Regions from separate parts of the Homo sapiens genome. Here all the other regions are linked to region 3. Evidence: promoter capture Hi-C in 16 types of primary human blood cells and fetal thymus (Javierre and others, 2016). All regions are on one chromosome and are shown on one strand. The core of a region is centred on a gene start or on the middle of the fragment in contact, and the rest is flanking DNA. Distances in the headings are between cores, read along the strand shown.

Region 1 (2,872 bases), core at 201-2,700, 640 kb before region 3:
GTCTCTGTTTCCCCATCTGTAAAATGGGGATAATGATCCCTGCTCTTCAAAGGGAGCAGGACAATCCCATAAACCTAAAAATAAATAAGGAAATAAAGATATTCATTGTGTACATCTGGTAGGTCTCAGAGCGCCCTGTTATTGTTGGGAGTTCAGGTGCAACGGCTTGGAATGCAGAGACGCGTGGACTCCTTGTGTTTCCTTAATGTTCTGACTTATTTTTCCCCAGAGGGGTGGGCCCTGGCAGCATCCCTGAGCCCCATAACTCTCCCTAACACTCTTCCTCCTCTGCCCTTTCTGTGCCCCATGGTAGGGATGGGGGCAGTCCCTGACTCCTTTGAGGGAGTTGAGCTATTGAATGGGGTCACTCATGTCCTGACTCCCACCATGGAGTCCAACAAGGCACATGCCCATTCTGTCCCCCTTAGACAAGCCAACAAGGGGTGGCCCTTCACTTGCTCCCCATGCCTACCAGGACCCTCCCCACCCCAGCACGAACTTACCCAGAACTGTGCTGGTTTAGTCAGCCCGATGACCAGTCCAGGTTATGAGGGTCCTTGGTCTCAAGGACCCAGTTAATACTGGGACTGCATTAACCCTCAAGACCTGGCTACTCTTTCTGGGCAGAGAAGCCAGGACACCAAGCGATCCCTCAAGAAGTTCACTCAGAGGGGCTTAGCCATCCTCACAGAGACACCCTGACACAGACATCCTGCCTCCCTCCCACAGACATTGCTGAGGGGTGCACACGCTTACACAGGCACCCCCTTCCCTGGTCCTCTTGGCGCTGTTCTCTCCAACACTCCCTCACTAGCCCATCAGTCACCTTACTCCTAGCACACACCCTGGACCCCCCATAGCACCCCTGCTCCCAGGGGTCCCCTACACTTGGGGATGGCCTTGAGTCGAGTATGGGTGTGGAGGACAGTTCCAGAGGGGACAGCCAGGAGGAGACTCTGTTCCTGCACACACCCCTTCTCTCCTCTTTCAGCTCAGGAGGCCTGAGTCCCTTTGAAAGGCCTGAAGCCTGGGGGAAGGTGGGCTGGACACTCCTGGGGAACCCTATGCCCTGGGATCAGGATTAACTCTTCAGGTCCTGGCCACTCTTTCTCCCAAGCCTGGCTTCTCCTTCCTCTTCCCCACTTCCCCCAGGGAAGGAGGCAGCAAATGAGTGGTGAGGGGAGCCCTTGGAAGCTGTAAATGAGGTGACTGTTGTCACCCTGAGGATGTGGCCAGGAGGAAGTGAAGTTTAACAGGTGCCTAATTACAAGTCCCGCTGGCTGTCCTGTGCCACTCTTAGGACAGGGAAGAGCTTGGGTGAGGGCTGGGTAATGCCCAGGTAGGCCACCCTGTCACCCTGCTAATTAGGGTTCCTGGGACTCCTCCCCAAGGCGGGGACCAGGCCCCCTCCCTCCCATAGAAATAACTCCAGCTGCTCCCCAGCTGGGCACTCATTGCACCTTCCTGCCACCCCAGGCAGTGTCTGGGCCCTCAGCTCCCCCTCCCTCCACCTACCCCCTCACACCCACCACTACGACCCCACGGGATACCCAGCCCAGACGGAGGAAACACCGAGCCTAGAGACATGAGAGTTGGAGGAGCATTCCACCTTCTACTCGTGTGCCTGAGCCCAGGTACGGGGCTGGGCAGGGGGCAGGGTAGCCAGCATGAGGCTAGGTGGGAAGGAAAGGGGCAGCAAGGGCTCACAGTGGAGCCTGGGGCTGCCTGAGTTGCCTGGCAGGGTGCTGCCCACCCTTGCCCTGCTGCAGCCGGGTGTGGGTATTACCAGGGGACCTTTCCCCAGGAGACCCTGTGCCTGATGTTCAGGGTGTGTGTCTGTAGTGCAGAGGTCTTTGAGTGGATCTTTATATGTCCCCTGTCGGGCTCACACATGTGTGCAGGTGCCCTGCAAGCTCATGCCGTGACTAGGAGGAGAGGGATTGATTGCTCTGCAGGAGCTGGAGGTGGGGTAGGAGAGGGGTAAGCACGGGCATTGGGTGAGGGCTCAGGAGGAGCTTGGGAAGGATCAATTTTCATCAGACTGTGTGCTATTCCCAACGCTACTCCTTCTCTCCCAAGGCCAGGGCCAAGGGGCAGGGAAGTCACTTGCCTTGAAAGGGCAAGAGACTAAGTCTGGTGTAAGTCTGAGTGGTTTCTTCCATCATGGCCAGTGACAGCTCAGGCCTGAGACCTCAGCCTTGGGCCCCCTGTGCTATGACAGGGCAGTGCCCCACTCTAGGATGAGGCCTGAGGGTGGTGGGGATGGCAACTCCAGAGACTTCTCACCCCACCAGGACAGGTCCACAGGGCAGGGCTCAAGTTTGGACATTGTGGCTTCCTGCCCAGGTTGGGGCAAGTTCCACCAAGGGGCATTCTATGCCAACATCACTGGAAAGGGCTCCGAGTCCCTCTTGCAGTCTGGATTTGGGATGAAGGGGCATGAAGGAGGAATTTGGGAAGGCGGGGTGACATTTTCAGCCTTTGTGTGAGCGTGAATGTGTATGTGAGTGTGTGGGTGCGTGCACCTGCATGGGAATGATGACATTTCCGGCAGGATAGCTGCAGCCCTTCTCTGTCTGATGAGAGCAGGGCTGGCAGAGTCCACTCGGGAGGCTCCAGCTGTGCTGTGGGGACCCGGACTTCCCCCTGTGTGGTGTGTCAATGGGTGTGTGAGGACAACTCAGCACTGGCTGCATTAACGCATCAATACCCTCAGCTGGAGCCGCCTTTTCTCCCCTCCCTTACCTCCAGAGGGAAGATCAGGAGTTCTGGAAGCACCTTGAAGATTCAGAAAGAATTTGCAAGCAGAGAGTAGGCACCACTATTGAGATGACACCCCGTAAAGCATGGCCAGTTTCTGGTGCTTTTGGGG
Region 2 (2,700 bases), core at 94-2,593, 610 kb before region 3:
TACCACTGAAAAATAAGGGGTCTGTACCAGGTCAGTCACACAGATCTTTGATCATTAAGGGCCATTTGAAAAATTATTTTTGGGCTGGGTGTGGTGGCTCATGCCTGTAATTCCAGCACTTTGGGAGGCTGAGGAGGGCGGATCACTTGAGGTCAGGAGTTTGAGACCAGCCTGGTCAACATGATGAAACCCTGTCTCTACTAAAAATACAAACATTAGCCGGGTTTAGTGGCAGTGACCTGTAATCCCAGCTACTCAGGAGGCTGAGACAGGAGAATCGCTTGAACCCAGGAGGCAGAGGTTACAGTGAGCTGAGATGCACCATTGCATTCCAGCCTGGGTGACAGAGCAAGACTCCGTCTCAAAGAAAAAAAAAAAAGGCAAATTATTTTTGTCTCACCAAACAGACCAAGGCCTTTTTTGAGGTTAAGGTGTGATTTCCTGCACATGTTTAGAAATATTGAAGAAATCTGCAGGCTTTGGAGCTCTCAGGGCCAGGAACTCAGGCAAGGAGATGAAACAAAGCAACCCAAAGTCCCTATGAGCCTCTGATGTAAACAATATCATCTTAATCTTTGCTGCACCCCATAAACCCTCATCCATGGCCCGGCAGTGTTGACCCATGTCATGTTGGCTGCTTGTTGACCAAGGAAGGGAACTCAGGCATCAGATGGATAGAGGGATCGCCCGGTGTGGAGGAGACCCCGTGTATCAGCCATCCCAACATCACACCACCGTCGGCCACCCCTAAGTCCACGTGGGCCACATTTAGCCTCTCTCATCCCTACTTAGTACTTGCCTCCCCTTATAAAGGCCTGTAGGGAGGGACCTCAGCTCCCCCACAGGCTGTTGAAAACACACTCTGCTGATTGTGGGGAACCCTGCTCTGCCCTGCCCTCTGCTACTCTCCTCAAACTCTGCAGAGTTTCTGCATGCTAACACTGCCGGGTCCTCACCATTCTCACAGCCGACTTTCTCTCCAAACCAGCAGTATCACCCACTGGCTCCGTTTTTACTGCTCTGGGCCACAAAACAGCTCATGTCTCACAGATAAGAATACCCCTCAAGCTGCCACCTCCTCCCTCCCAGGACCCTGCATCTCTTTGTATCTGCCTAGCTTAAAATGTTGCCCAAGAGCTTGTTCTAGTCTTTCCTACCCACCCTCAGCTTCTGGGTTCTCACCCAGGTCGAGGGATCCCTGCCCAGACGTCTGGCATAGGCAGCTGGGGAGGGGCCTTCAGCTCTCCGAGGACAGGCTATCTGCCTGCCCCACTTACCTTCCCAGAGAAGCAGACTCCACAGGGGCCTCATGACCATCTTTCTCTGGAGAGGCAGGCAAACTCCCTCGACAGCCAAAATCCAGAACCTCCCAGGCCGAGTGGATGCACGGGAGGAGCTGTGGTCCTTCTGGAAAGTCCCATGTTCAGAAGGAGGAATCTTGACTCAGAACAGGATGTCCCAAAAGTGAAAACATCCAGAATAAAGTGGAAGTTGTCCCTGGGCCTCTCTGGGCTTACAGGAGCAGATTCTTGTAAGTCAGCCTCTTTCACATGCACATGGTTGGCTAACACGTGGCGACAACAGCCCCCACACAAGCCACATCCTCCTTGCTGGATCTCGCTGGCCTTCCTGCATCTCAGCCTGCCTCACTACTATCTGTCATCCTCATTCTAGCTTAAAATGCTTCTGTGGCCTCCCGTGGACCTGAGGATGAGGACTAACTCTGCTCTGCATGCAGGCCCTCCTGAGTCAGGCCTTCTTCTCCAGGCTGGTCGCCCACAGTCATTCTGCCCTCCAGCCATCCCAAGCCAGAAGGCCTCCTTCTCAGAACTACTGATTTCACACTTCCCTGTGTTGTACTTTCCCCACCACCCCGACTAGGCATGCTGCTCCCTCTATCCTTGCAAACAGAACATGGCTGTGCAGTCGGCGAGGACATCCTTCCAGGCTTCCTGACCACAGGCAGGTGAGAGGCCCTCTCCTTGTGTCCTGTGCATGCCCACACCTCCCTCTTTACTCTTGCTGTGTTGTTGATGACAGTTTTCTGGTTTTCACAGACTGTTTAGCCAGTCTTTTGTTCCCTTCTGTGTTGCCCTCAGTGCTTGGCACATTACAGATGTTTCATGAGTATTTGTTAAGTGAGTGAGTACATTCTAGACATGGCTACACATCTGGCTTTATGTAAGCCTTGCAACTCTCCTCTGAGAGGATCATCTTGTTACCTGGTTAGAAATGGGAAAATGTGAAAACCAGAGTGAGGTTAGGCCCCTTGCAGAGCTCACAGAGAGGCAGAGCTGGAACTTGAACCTCAGCCTTTGAAGTGTGGTCTATTTTGCCACAGTTATCCCCTCCTCATCCTGTTTCTCTTCTCACTTCAAGTTTCTTGGTTTCTTGCCAGTGAAGGTTTTTAGAGGACGTGTTGCCCCTGAGGAAAATTCCTGCTAGTCTGGAGTGTGGCTCATCGTATCTGGTCCTGCACAGCCTCTCGCCTGTCAATCAAACTGGACACTGAGCTTTGGACTCAGCCAGGAACTAGGCATATAGGATGGGGTGGGGGTGGGTGGTGAGCAGGAGGATTTTGGGATAAGGTTTTTGCCCTCCAGGTACTCACAACCAAAATGTAGAGATAGGTACACCAAGGAAAGTGAAGGGTTATCTGCAGACAGACACCACTTTGTGCAAACAGGTAGTCAGTCCTCA
Region 3 (2,700 bases), core at 108-2,607:
CTTAAGTGCCATTATAAAAGAGACCCCAGAGACTCCCCTTGTCCCTTCTGCCACATGAGGACATGAAAGAAGGCAACTGTCTAAGAACCAGGAAACTGGACCTCACCGGATGCCGAATCTGCCAGCACTTTGATCTAGGACTTTCCAGCATGGAGAACTGTGAGAAATGGATGTTTGTTGTTCATAAGCCACCCGGCCTATGGCATTTTGTTATAGCAGTCTGAAGAGACTAAGACAACTGTGTTATATGCCTTCTATTATATTATTAATATTAATAAAATATTTCAAGTATTAAAATTTTTATAGACTCTGAGTTCGTAGAAACCAAGGTCTGTATGTTTTTCATTTCTGAATTCCACAATAACAGTACAATATCTACACTGCATTGTACCCTAAAACTTAAAATATAATAAATAAAAAAAAATTAAGATGTTTACTGAATGCCTACTAGAGTTCAGCTACTCAGCTTGGCTGAGGCACACAGAAGGTATTTGTTGATTAGTTGGTCAGCAAATTCATATAGGAGAATTTTGAATCTATGATTAGTAAAACAGTTCTCTCATTTAACTCATATGCTATCTCAGTATTCAAACTCACAGGAATCATCAGCCAGGGGAGTCTTTTCTCTGACTTAATAAGTCAAAGAAGGAACACCCTGACGTCCTGTTGCTTCTGAGACTCTCCTCTCAGCGCCAGGCAGAACAGCAATGATCAGGCTTGTTCTTTATTTCCTCTGTTCTCCATGCACATAGCTGTGCCTGCCCACTGTCTGGCAGCCTGCAAGAACAAACAGGCTCCCCTCTGGGCCTTTTGAGCCCCTGAACCATTAAAAGGCTGTTGGGAAGCACCTACTGTGAGCCAAACAGTAGGGAAAGCAGGTTCTATAAGAAAAGGCGGATTGGGGGGTAATACACTCTAGAGGAAAAGAGTCTCAAGGGACTGGGAGCTTGATGTTTGACTTCACAGCTTATATTCATATAATGTTCATCATCTGCCCACTGTCCTATGTGCCAAAGAGATTTTTGTCTTGCACTGCCACCTCACCAGTGAAAAAGCATGTAACTTGCTGAGAATGTCCATTCCAATCAGCATAGTTGTTAGCAGGAACACAGCAGATGTCACCTAGCAGCCGGCATGGCGTGCTTTGAGGATTCAGCCTAAGGAGAGGCTGCTGTGCTGCCCTTGTGCCTGGCCCCAGGTGCCACCTCTCCTTGGTGCTGGTGCTCCTGCGCCTTCACGTATCCCCTTCCCCGACACGCACACACTGGCTCGTCCTGTATCAGGGCCCAGAGACCGTGGGTGGGTGAGAATGAAAGTGAGAAGAGCAAAATCTATCCTTGACAACCTGAAGGTGGCAATAATCACATTTACTTGAAAATTGCCTGAGAATGAGCTGCATGTTCTGTGTGAATATGCAAACACATGCAAATGTATGCAAATGTGCGACCCTCCTAACTATTTTCTCCATCTGGATGTGGCCCCTTGTGGTGAGGCCAGAAGGAAGCAGTCTCCAAGTGATGGATTCCGTCCAGTTCTCCCTCTAACCTGAGAGGGTAGCTGGAGAAACATCCGCCTTTGTTCTCCTGGTCACCTTTCTCCTATTGCTGGGGTTTGGGAGGGGGCTCGGGCACCCAGATAAGCTCACGGTCAATAAATATACATTGCTTTGATTTATTCTGGGCTGATGTAGAAAAACCAGCCTGTCTCATCCTTGTCCCCTGCCTCATGCCCAGTGCCTGCCATCCCATTTTGGCCCCACCATGATGTAATAACATGATAACATTATCATATTGCTGTGAGTATTACAGTAATGTGGGAACGTTCCACATCCCTGAGCCTCAGCCACCATCTGTAAAACAAGCAGGCAGGCCGGGAGCGGTGGCTCACGCCTGTAATCCCAGCACTTTGGGAGGCCAAGGCCAGAAGATCACCTGAAGTCAGTAGTTTGAGACCAACCTGGCTAACAAGGTGAAACCCCATCTCTACTAAAAATACAAAAATTAGCCAGGCATAGTGGCGTATGCCTGTAGTCCCAGCTACTCGGAAGCCTGAGGCAGGAGAATCGCTTAAACCCCGGAGGTGGAAGTTGCAGTGAGCTGAGATCGTGACACTGTACTCCAGCCTGGGCGACAGAGTGAGACTGCATACTCAAAAAAAAAACAAAAAAAAAAAACACTAAATAAATAAATAAATAATAAAATAGAAACACAAAAGCAAAATCTGGTTCGCTTTAAGGTCCCTCCTGGAAGGTTAGATCTGAATGTCTTGAGTTTATGATGGGAAATGCAGCAACAGGGCAGTGCTGTTATGACTTATCACCAGCTGAGCACATAAGAGAAAAGGGAACAAGGACCTTAAATTCATCTGGAACATAGACCTGGGTTCAAATCTCAGAATTTTCTGGTTTCTAACAGTTGATACTTGGACAAGCTGCATAGCTTCTGATTGGAGAGCCCCATTTTTCTCCTTAGTAAAAAGAGTCCATTAGCTCCCAAAGGGTTTTGTACTTAACTTCTATCCTCAATACATACATTAACATACACAACAGACATTTGGAATGCATACTATCTGTCCAGCACTGGGCTATGTTCTGGAAAGTAAAAGGAAGCCACAACCTTTGTCCTTAAGAAACCCGGTTAGCGGGACCAACAAACACATAAGGACAGAGGTTAAATAATACACGATAGTCATTATTACGCC

Evidence for each region. The method cuts DNA at HindIII sites, captures the fragments that hold promoters and counts their contacts. A CHiCAGO score of 5 or more calls a contact.
Region 1: the fragment with the promoter of VSIG8 here is called in contact with a fragment that was not itself captured in region 3 in 2 of 17 cell types (erythroblasts and total B cells); the score reaches 5.8 in erythroblasts.
Region 2: a contact is called between the fragment with the promoter of SLAMF8 here and a fragment that was not itself captured in region 3, in 1 of 17 cell types (megakaryocytes). The highest score is 5.5, in megakaryocytes.

What each region holds. Positions count from the first base shown.
Region 1 is chr1:159,861,235-159,864,106 of GRCh38, reverse strand. It overlaps VSIG8 (V-set and immunoglobulin domain containing 8), which reads left to right and starts at 1,450. Exons shown (of 7, transcript NM_001013661.1): 1 at 1,450-1,634. The coding sequence starts at 1,586. LOC107985216 (a long non-coding RNA gene) reads right to left here. Exons shown (of 2, transcript XR_001738263.2): 2 at 1-2,872. RefSeq lists enhancers at 1,122-2,034, 2,035-2,872. The HindIII fragment of the contact is 16,901 bases long and covers 1-2,872 here.
Region 2 is chr1:159,825,516-159,828,215 of GRCh38, reverse strand. It overlaps SLAMF8 (SLAM family member 8), which reads right to left and starts at 1,343. Exons shown (of 5, transcript NM_020125.3): 1 at 1,278-1,343. The coding sequence starts at 1,317. The HindIII fragment of the contact is 24,464 bases long and covers 1-2,700 here.
Region 3 is chr1:159,217,560-159,220,259 of GRCh38, reverse strand. No RefSeq gene overlaps it. Among named protein-coding and RNA genes, the nearest start is that of ACKR1, 14 kb to the right of the region's middle. The HindIII fragment of the contact is 3,320 bases long and covers 1-2,700 here.